Linked DNA regions of Homo sapiens: region 2 is linked to region 1. The links are contacts of gene promoters, found by promoter capture Hi-C in human tissues and cell types (Jung and others, 2019). All regions are on one chromosome and are shown on one strand. The core of a region is centred on a gene start or on the middle of the fragment in contact, and the rest is flanking DNA. Distances in the headings are between cores, read along the strand shown.

The links. The method cuts DNA at HindIII sites, captures the fragments that hold promoters and counts their contacts. A contact is called where the count stands out against the background at its distance.
Region 2: a fragment that was not itself captured here is called in contact with the fragment with the promoter of HELT in region 1 in 1 of the 25 tissues and cell types used here (pancreas).

The regions. Positions count from the first base shown.
Region 1 is chr4:185,015,826-185,020,847 of GRCh38, forward strand. HELT (helt bHLH transcription factor) reads left to right here and starts at 2,665. Exons shown (of 4, transcript NM_001300781.2): 1 at 2,665-3,130; 2 at 3,562-3,666; 3 at 3,922-4,018; 4 at 4,448-5,022. The coding sequence starts at 3,104. The coding sequence ends at 4,947. RefSeq lists enhancers at 1,915-2,495, 2,496-3,074, 3,075-3,654, 4,369-5,022. The HindIII fragment of the contact is 22,587 bases long and covers 1-5,022 here.
Region 2 is chr4:186,026,150-186,030,938 of GRCh38, forward strand. It overlaps the pseudogene RNU4-64P. Among named protein-coding and RNA genes, the nearest start is that of TLR3, 41 kb to the right of the region's middle. RefSeq lists an enhancer at 961-2,160. The HindIII fragment of the contact is 4,021 bases long and covers 1,054-4,789 here.

The DNA of each region.
Region 1 (5,022 bases), core at 1,415-3,914:
TATTTCCATTTTACAGATGAGGAAACTGAGGGACAGTAGATTCAGGACGATGCCTCGAGTCTCACCCAGCTGGTGGGCGGTAGGGCTGGGATCTGAACAGGCTGGCTGGCTCCGGCGAACCTCGGCTCTTCCCTACTCTGCTCTTATGTTGCGTGGAAACTAGGCCAGGATCAGGGAACTCCTGATCTTCACCCTGAGGAGAAGCAAAGAGAAGACAGCCCTGAGGCGCCCCACTCTGGGGCAGCGTGTGTGACCCAGGCCTTCGGACCGAGAAGGGAGAAAGGAAATACGTCCTTCCCTATCCTGAAGCGGAGGGCGTTCCAGGTTTCGCAGGTAGTGCTGCAGCCGCGCAAGGACCGGGCGAGGCTGCGCCCCTGAGCCCAAGTCTCCACTCACCGGCCTTCCCTTGCCCCCTCACCTGCACGCGGGTACTTTTAGCCCTGGGCAAGCCTTGAGCCAAGCGCCGAGACCAAACCCGGGAAATTAAACAGTGTGCATGGAATGAAATGTGGTCCGTGGAAGGTGCCTGCAGCTGGCGGTTAACACCGGCAGTAAGAGGATCAACGCCCGGGCCGCTGGCTTAAAAATGGGAGTGGGAGTGCGAAGTGTGCGCGCTCCTTTTTACCCATTCACGTTAGTTAATTTGGATGATAAGGGTTCGCGTTTAATCTCTTTGTGTGCGAGTGAATATCCTGAAATCGACAACCCCTGAGAGGGCACTCGCGGCTGGCAGAGCAACCTGGGAGGGTGCGGATCGTGTCCAATCTGGCGTGAAGCAGAAAGGAAACATCGTGAGGAGACTAGAGGCAGGACCGAGAGGGACACCCTAGGGGTGCGAGGTGCAGACCGAGCCCTCACATCTCCCAGGCCGCAGCAGGTGGGCCGATGGCTTCCCCGAGGCCTGGCACCCCAGGCCTGGCTCTGCGCCCTGAGGCTCCCAGGTCCCACCAGCTAGAAGAGCGCCGCCTACCCACCCCTGCCAAGGTCTAACGACCCCAAGGGGGGCGCTGGGCCCTGCCATCTCCCTGCAGAACAGAGAGAATTTAGGCAGGGTTAGGGGCAGGCAGAAAAGAAGAAAAATCTGAGAAGCGGTCTCAGCTGTTCCCAGATGGAAAAGATTAGAGAGGTGAGAGTTCGGTGGCTCTAGAAAGGGCCATAAAACAAAAATCATTTTTATCGTTTCAATCTGCAAGAAAGCTCACCCCCCACCCACACCCCACAAGCTCAGAGCCCCCAGAGTATAGGATCCGAGGCAGCAAGTGTGAGCGAGGCCCGTCCTGGGGGAGGTGGCCTCTGGCCGCGGGGCCAGGTTGCCCTCAGAGGCGCAGGCGGCCAAGAGAGTTCCCAGCCGCCGCCGCCCCCCTCCTTCCCCTTGGGCCCGTCCAGCAAATTTCCTCCCTCGTTTCTGTTCGTGCCTTCCCTCCCTCCTCCTCCCCCCGATATTTTCGCTTTCTAAAACCATAAAAAAGAGATCAACTTCCCAAACTTCACAGGGCCCTTTTCAGTGACAAATATTGATGCCCAAAGTGTCTGCGCTCTCCCGCCCCCAAACGTTAAGAAAAGACGCCAGCGAAAGGGAGACATAAAAAGTTAACAATGCTGTGAAAATATGTTTGCAGAAAATAGACAATCGTTGGATTAAACGTATTCAAGTATGAAATAATGCCTTTTTGTGTCAAAACTTGGGCGATGGGCGGGTACAAAAGTTCCCTGTGGCAGCTACTTGCTCCCTTTGTGAGCCGTGCGCTTTGGCGTCTCCACTTGGGCGCATTACTCAGAGCCCTCTAAGCGCGATTGTTTCTCCCTTTCTAATGACATTTACCGGATCAAAACATGCTGTTAATTCGATCAGAAGGCTTCACCCTCCCTGACAAAGCCACAATAATTTCTCCTGAAGTTTGTTAAATTGACCAAAATTAGGCAAATGAATAGGGGTCTGTAGGCGCCCCCTCTCGCAGGTGACGTTGCATAATGCTTGCCTGGGCCAGCTGCATTCCCCCTTTTCTTCTCGGCCCACTCTTCTCCGTGTTGCCCCCCAATCCTCCCACCCGCCCCTTCACACACAAACACACACACACGCCCGCCAGTCTCTCCTCCCCCACCCTCTGGCATTATTAAAATTTAGCCCAATGAAACTATTCATACTTTTCAATGGACATTTTCGTATAGGATAATAGGCTACAAATTGAGCCTCTTCCCCCCGCGAAGAGGGAGCAGGAGGGGTGGGGAGAAAAGAAAGCCAGCGACGTGGTCAGGGAGTAGGGGGGAGCGTCGCGTGCCAAACAGCGGCGGGAGGGGCGAGGCGAGGCGAGGCGGGAGCCTCGTGTGCCAGCCGCAGCCCCACACCTGCCGGGATGTCCGGACAAATAAAGCGGTGTAAACAAAAAGGGGGGAGAAGGACGTGTCACCAAGTCGTGTGAGAAAAGCCTGGGAACAAACGGGGCGCCTCCGTCTCCAAGAGCTCTCCCTTGAACCCGGCGGAACAGCCTATTAAAGGCTTACTTAATTACTTTAATGACTCTGGACAGGCTTTAAAACGCACTCGGCGCTGGGACGGCGGGCTTGCTGGGATTTGTAAACAGGCGATCATGTGAGACTCAGCGGTGGGACTAAAAGAGGCGACACTGTTTTGTGAGGGTCCTCGCCCCCCGGTGCCCGCGGCCGCTGCGCCCCTGCGCTCCGCGCCCGCGACTGCTGCAGGCGCTTGCTCGCCCGCCGGCCCCAGTTTACCGCCTCCTTTTCCCGCCCGAGCTGTTGCCATGCAAATGTTATTCCTGGGCCGATCACGTGTCCTTTGAAGGGCCACGTGGATTAACAAAGCTGATCTGCCCCCAGCTCGCCCCCCTCGGCTGCTAATTTTTTTTTTTTCTTAACTTCTTTAAAACTGATCTTGAATGCATACATCCTCCAAACGCAGCTCCCCTAATCCTATGGAATAATTCAACTCGTGAATGCATCTGGAGCCCTAGATGACCGCTTTATAAGGCAGCCCTCGGAGTTGGGAGGCTGCAGTCTACCTGGGACACTCGAGGAGGCACACGAGGCGGAAAAGTGGACGGGTGCCCCGCGCCACCGCCTCTCCCGAGGGCGCGTACTGACCAGGATGTCAGACAAGCTCAAGGAACGCAAAGTGAGTCGGCTGAGCCCAAATGGCACTTGCGCCCTGGTGGTGGAGGCATCTGACTCACCGACCCGCCACTTGGGTGGACCGATGGCAGGGAAGTGCCCGCACGGGACTTTGAGTGTGGAGGAATCTCGAGTGGTTTGGGAAGGGGGTGGGGTAGAGAGAGGAGGGTGCTCAACCAGGTAGAAGTCCTGCCTGGAGGCTGGCGGCCACCTCCCCAAAGGCCTGGGTAGGGTGGCTGGAAGGGGAGCGCGCCAGCGCGGGCGTCAGAAGGCAGAGCTCACCTGGCCCGAGCGTGGCGGGCCAGGAGTCCCTTCCTAGAGCGAATCTGAGCAGTGTGCGCGGCTGGAGAGGCGGCTTGCACCCAGCTGCTAGAGCCGCGCCTTTGACGACTTCCCGGGCAAAGCCATCCTAAACATACAACCCTCTCTTCGCAGAGAACCCCCGTTTCTCATAAAGTGATAGAAAAGCGGAGGAGGGACAGGATCAACCGCTGCTTGAACGAGCTGGGCAAGACAGTGCCCATGGCCTTGGCGAAGCAGGTAACGTTGGCGACCCGGAGCCGGGTGCCAGGCGTTGGGAGGCCTCTGCGGCCACTCTGCGGAGACGCCCGAGCCCGCGGACACAGAGGACCTCACTTGCGGGCCCCTCCCAGGCGGGGGGCCTGAGCGCAGGGCGAACCTCAGGAGGCTCTGGCGCAGATCCGCAGCCGCGTCCGCTCGCTGGTCCTCTCCAGCGCCACAGTGCCCGACCAGCAGGCGCTGGGCCGCTGCGAGGGGCCCTTCCTCCTTTTGCAGAGTTCCGGGAAGCTGGAGAAGGCGGAGATCCTCGAGATGACCGTTCAGTACCTGAGAGCACTGCACTCCGCTGATTTTCCCCGGGGAAGGGAAAAAGGTGGGCACAGGTTAGGGAATGGGACGCCTGGGCCAGGCGCCTGCGCCACCCAGAGACCCTGGGGCTGGGAGGGGAGTGACTGAGTGTTCCCGAGAGCTCTACTAGAGCTCCACTCTCCAGGAGGGCAGGGGTCCTGCGAAGGCGCCTCTCCCTGCTCGGCGACAGCAAGGCGGCGAGGGAGAACTGGTTCCCAGGGAGGCTGGTTCCACCTCCTTCTCCCGGGTGGGGTGGGTGGGGTCAGGCTCTCAGGGAAAGAGGGCGTTTGCGCGTGCCTCGCCAGTCTCTAAGACTGCGCAGAGGAGAGGGCGGGCCTCAAATGGGAACTTTGGCCAGAAAATGTGGTGGGAGGTGCCCTGCACCCGCTTTGGGCTCGCGTGGGGAAGGGGCACTCAGGGTGTGTCCGTCCTACGGGCTTTCTCGTTCCTCCAGCAGAACTTCTAGCGGAGTTTGCCAACTACTTCCACTATGGCTACCACGAGTGCATGAAGAACCTGGTGCATTACCTCACCACGGTGGAGCGGATGGAGACCAAGGACACGAAGTACGCGCGCATCCTCGCCTTCTTGCAGTCCAAGGCCCGCCTGGGCGCGGAGCCCGCCTTTCCGCCGCTGGGTTCGCTCCCGGAGCCGGATTTCTCCTATCAGCTGCACCCTGCGGGGCCCGAATTCGCTGGTCACAGCCCGGGCGAGGCCGCTGTGTTCCCGCAGGGCTCTGGTGCCGGGCCTTTCCCCTGGCCGCCTGGCGCGGCCCGCAGCCCCGCGCTGCCCTACCTGCCCAGCGCGCCAGTGCCGCTCGCTAGCCCAGCGCAGCAGCACAGCCCCTTCCTGACACCGGTGCAGGGCCTGGACCGGCATTACCTCAACCTGATCGGCCACGCGCACCCCAACGCCCTTAACCTGCACACGCCCCAGCACCCCCCGGTGCTCTGACGCCCACTCGCCCGCCAGATTTCTCCTCGCTTTGGGCGCTTTTAGGAGAAATGCTGTATATATTGTACACATAAT
Region 2 (4,789 bases), core at 1,814-4,313, 1.0 Mb after region 1:
AAGGACAATCCAGCTACTGTCCCTGACACAGATACTGCTTCAGGGGAGGGGAAGAAGCAAAAGCGCTGTTTGTCCTTGGGGGAAGACCTGGAAAATACTCAGGTGCAAGATCCTGTGATGGATGCAAAGCGAAGGCGGTTACCATGGGGAAGGGAGCTGGGAAGCTTTGCAAGCAGGAGGAATAGCTGCTGGGCAAAGTGACACCACTTTGTGGAAAGCTCACTATCACCACCTTCCTCTCAGCCCCTACAAGCCCAGAGAACAGGCAAAGTGCTTTGGCGGAGGTGTCTAGAAGAATCTAGTGCTTCTGTCACCAGGTGTGTGAAAATATCTCAACTCCTCACAAGGTCCACTGCCTTGCGCTGCTCATTTTCAATTAGCAATAATCATGCCTTGGATAAACCTCATTGGCTATGATACAGCCACTGCAGAGAGCTATGCTGTTCATTTTCTTCACCTAAGACTCACAAAGCAGGGGATGGGGGGCAGTCAGACCTTAGCTACAAGAGGCTGGGAAGTGTAATTTTCATCCATCTTTCTTTCCTTCCCTCCCTCCCTCCCTTCCTTCCTTCCCTTTCATCTCTCTTGTCCTTTCTTTCTTCTCTTTCTTCTCTGCCTCTGCAGTTCAAACAGGCATTCTAGCTGTAGTTCAGAAAGTGATTCCATAAATGGGTTGGAACAGGAGCTGAAAAGCCAGTCCATAATTTCTACTGCACCTCTCATCCCACTAAATACCATTACGTCAGAGGCCCTGTTCATTTCCTTTACAGTGCCACAGCAGTTACAACAAAACAAAATACACATAATGGTGGTTTATTTTTACTTATTTAATGTCCTCCTCTGCCCCATTCATTTATAAGTTCCGCTCATGCCTCGTGTAAACAAAAACTAAAACTCTAAGCCCTCAACCGACTGAATGGATCCCTTCTGAGCCAAGGAGACCTCAAATGATATGGTTTGGATGTGTGTCCCCTCCAAATCTCATGCTGATGTAATCCCCAATGTTGCAGGTGGGGCCTGGTGAGAGGTGTTTGGGTCATGGGATGTATCCCTCATGAATGGCTTGGTGCCATCCTCATGGTAATGAGTGAGTTCTTGCTGTATCAGTTCATGGGAGAGCTGGTTGTCTAAAATAACCCGGCACCTCTGTGATTGCCAGACAGTTTCTTCTTGCTGGCTGCACAGACAAAATCAATCCACTGAGACCACAGCATTGCAGTACAGAAAGAGTTTAACTGACACGAAGCCGGACCACATGGGAGAACTGGAGCTATCATTCAAATTGGTCTCTCTGAAGGCTCAGAGGTTAGAGTCTTTATGACAATTTGGTGGGCGGGGAGTTAGGGAATGGGCGCTGCCGATTGGTTGGGGATGAAATCACAGGGTGCAGAAACAATCCCCGTGCTCTGAGTCAGCTGCTGGGTGGAGCCACAGGATCAGGTGAGTCAGGAGTCAGGAGTCCAGGTGGGGTGTGTCTGAAACACATCTCAGAAAACCCATCTTAGGTTCTACAGTAGTGATGTCATCCATAGGAGCAATTGAGAAGGTCTCAAATCTTGTGACCCCTGGCCACGTGACCCCTGAGTAGTTAGGGATTGTAGGAACAACACCTGTCTCTTAGCAGGTTCAGGCCCCTCCCATAATCCTAACCATGAGGTCTTTCATTGGTTCTAGAAAGGTGGTTCAGTTCTGGGAAGGGCTGTTATCATCCTTGTCTTAAGGTTAAACTATAAACTAAATTTTTCCCAAGGTTAGCTTGGCTTACATCCAGGAATGACCAAGGACAGCTTGGAGGTCGGAAGCAAGATGGAGTCACCTATGTCAGATTTCTCTCACTGTCATCATCTTTCCAAAAGCAGTTTCACCTCACTGCTCTTTCTCTTGCTCCCTCTCTTGCCTTGTGATACGCTGGCTCCCCCTGAGTCTTCCACCATGATTGGAAGCTTCCTAAGGCCTCACAAGAAGCAGATGCTGGCAAGACACTTCCTATACAGCCTACAGAACTGTAAGCCAAAGTAAACTTGTCTTTATAAATTATCTGGTCTCAGGTATCCCTTTATAGCAATGCAAAACAAACTAATACACCAGAGAGGCCTGAAAAACTGAATTCCCCACCACAATGGGAAGGGATGTCAGACACACCTCGCTATGCCCCCTCCCTTTGGAGTTTAGGTACAACTGACCAGCATTAACATGAAAACAGAGATCATAACACTGACAAAACAGACTCCATGGCAATAAGATAACAAATTCCAACCTGACTCTGGTATAGCATCATATGACAGATAGCACTCTCTGAAGGAAATCAAGTGTATTTTACCTTAAAATATATTTCATTGACATATTTTGAAATGGCCCTGCAAAGCCATCTTTCATGGAGGAAGTTTGTAGAGAATCTTCATTCATGCAGCCTGGCCTTTCCCGATCTAGGAGAGATTAACTAAGAGTCTGACACCTGGCTGGGCGTGGTGGCTTACGCCTGTAATCCCAGCACTTTGGGAGGCTGAGGCAGGCGGATTACAAGGTCAGGATATCAAGACCATCCTGGCTAACACAGTGAAACCCCGTCTCTACTAAAAATACAAAAAACTAGCCGGACATGGTGGCGGTGCCTGTAGTCCCAGCTACTCAGGAGGCTGAGGCAGGAGAATGGCGTGAACCTGGGAGGTGGAGCTTGCGGTGAGCCAAGATTGCGCCACTGCGCTCCAGCCTGGGTGACAGAATGAGACTCTGTCTCAAAAAAAAAAAAAAAAAAAACAGAGTCCGACACCTGTTAAGTTCTGAAAAGAGACATTCAGTATCTATTCTCTCTGAAGGCTGCTACCTGGAGGCTTCATCTACATAACAAGGACCTTGCCTTCCACAACTCCCCTTATGTGAACCCAAGCATTTCTTTCTACCAACTTCAAGCCTTTAGACAAAGCTTAACTGTTTCAAACAATTGCCAATCAGAAAATCTTTGAATCTACTTATGACTTATAAGCCCCCCACTTCTCACCTTTGAGATATCCCACCTTTCCAGGCAGAACCAATGTACACTGTACATGTACTGATTTATGTCTTTGTCTGTAACTTCTTTCTCCCTAAAATCTATAAAACCAAGCCATAACCCGACCACCTCAGACAGCCTCTGTCAGGACCCCTTGAGACTGTTCTCTGAGTCATGGCCACTCATATTGGTGCAGAATAAACCTCTTCAGCTGTTTTACAGAGTTTGGTTTTGCCAGTAACACTCACGCTTTGCACTTTGTCCACCTCGTCCTTGGGGTATCCTCACTCTAAACCACAGTGTTTAGTATATGGTTGGCACTTGATACATATTGCTGAATAAATGATCAGGCCCTTTAAGAACTGGTTAAGAACAAAACAAAAGCAAGACTGCCCTTTCTATGGAAAAATAAATACTTAGATGTCCAGACATGTTTATACTCAACTTCCTGAATTTCCCAAAAGGAAATGCGGGGAGGGGATGAGATGAGGTCTGCTCTAGTTAACTTGCTTGGAAGCAGCAATTTTGATCATGGAACTATTAAAATGTATGTGACCTTCCAAAAAAAATAAAGAGGGGAAATAGTTTCAATGTTCCAAACTCCCTCTTTGGGTCTGAAACATGTGTCACTGGCAGGTCACCCTCCCGGGAGTGCATGTCTGAAACGTGTCACTGGCAGGTCACCCTCCTGGGAGTGCACGCCTGCACGAAGCCCATGTTTGGCTGTGCCTGGAGTGTCTCCATTAGCGCTGGCACATAATGCTGCAGCCTGCGCCAGCTGCTTTTCAAACAGATTCACTGGCAACAGAAAAGGAAGAAAAAAAAAATCCAAGGTCTTAGGGTACATTTTTTTCATTCTCTTTCTACAGCTAAAAGGAAGCTGGAAGCTTGAGAAGGATTCACAGTAGCTGAATAATAGCCAGAAAGGGAGATTAGCAAGGAGCATTGTGAGAGCTGGGAGATTTTTCTTGGGTTTAGCACGAGAAGAATGTAATGCTGTGTGTGTTTGACTTGCTCGTTCTGTTGGTGTCCCCCCTCCCTTGGCTCCAGAGCCCCTGTACGCCTTCCCTCTTCCTTTGCCAGTAAGGGATTGACATGGGGTCAGTCATGAAGACGCTGTCTCCCAGCCCCACCCCAAAGGTCACAGCAGGAGGCTGCTGCAGGCTGCCTCTCAGGCTGCCAGTGGGAACAAAGATGAGGGCTGCTCAGCTCTTTTCTGGCTACCCAGGGAGAACAGTAAATCCCCTGGTGCTGCAGAGAGACCTGGACTTGGCGTGGAGACATGCTCCTTCCAAGTGACTAATTGTCAGATTTTCATATTTCATAAGGCACGCCAGCAATGAACAAGCAAGCAAAGGGACCGCAAATTAAGAAAATTACTCTAATTTATTGGTAACAATCAACCTTCATTTTCCTCTTTTCCATGGAACTTCTTCCTAATGACCTCCCCTCCTACAGCTGTGTCATTTGGATAAACACATCTCTCAGACATTTTTTAATGAAATTTGAGGCTATTCACGAAGGAGGAAGGGGAGGAAAAAGAAAACTCCTTATGCTCATCTCCCTTCATATTGTAGATGGTTCATAATGAGCACAGTGTCTTTTGAGATGTACTTGAAGGCATATTTTTCCATTTCCCGTAAATCTTCATGCTCTGGGTGTCCCAGTCATTGAAGCTGTGGGTTGCAGTGCTCCAAGAGTAAAAGGGTTCAGGAAATGCGACCGCAAAATATACTGATTGCTTCAAATGGAGGGCACTGGAGGAGCAGCAATGCAGGGAGGGGCTTTCTCTGAACCTGC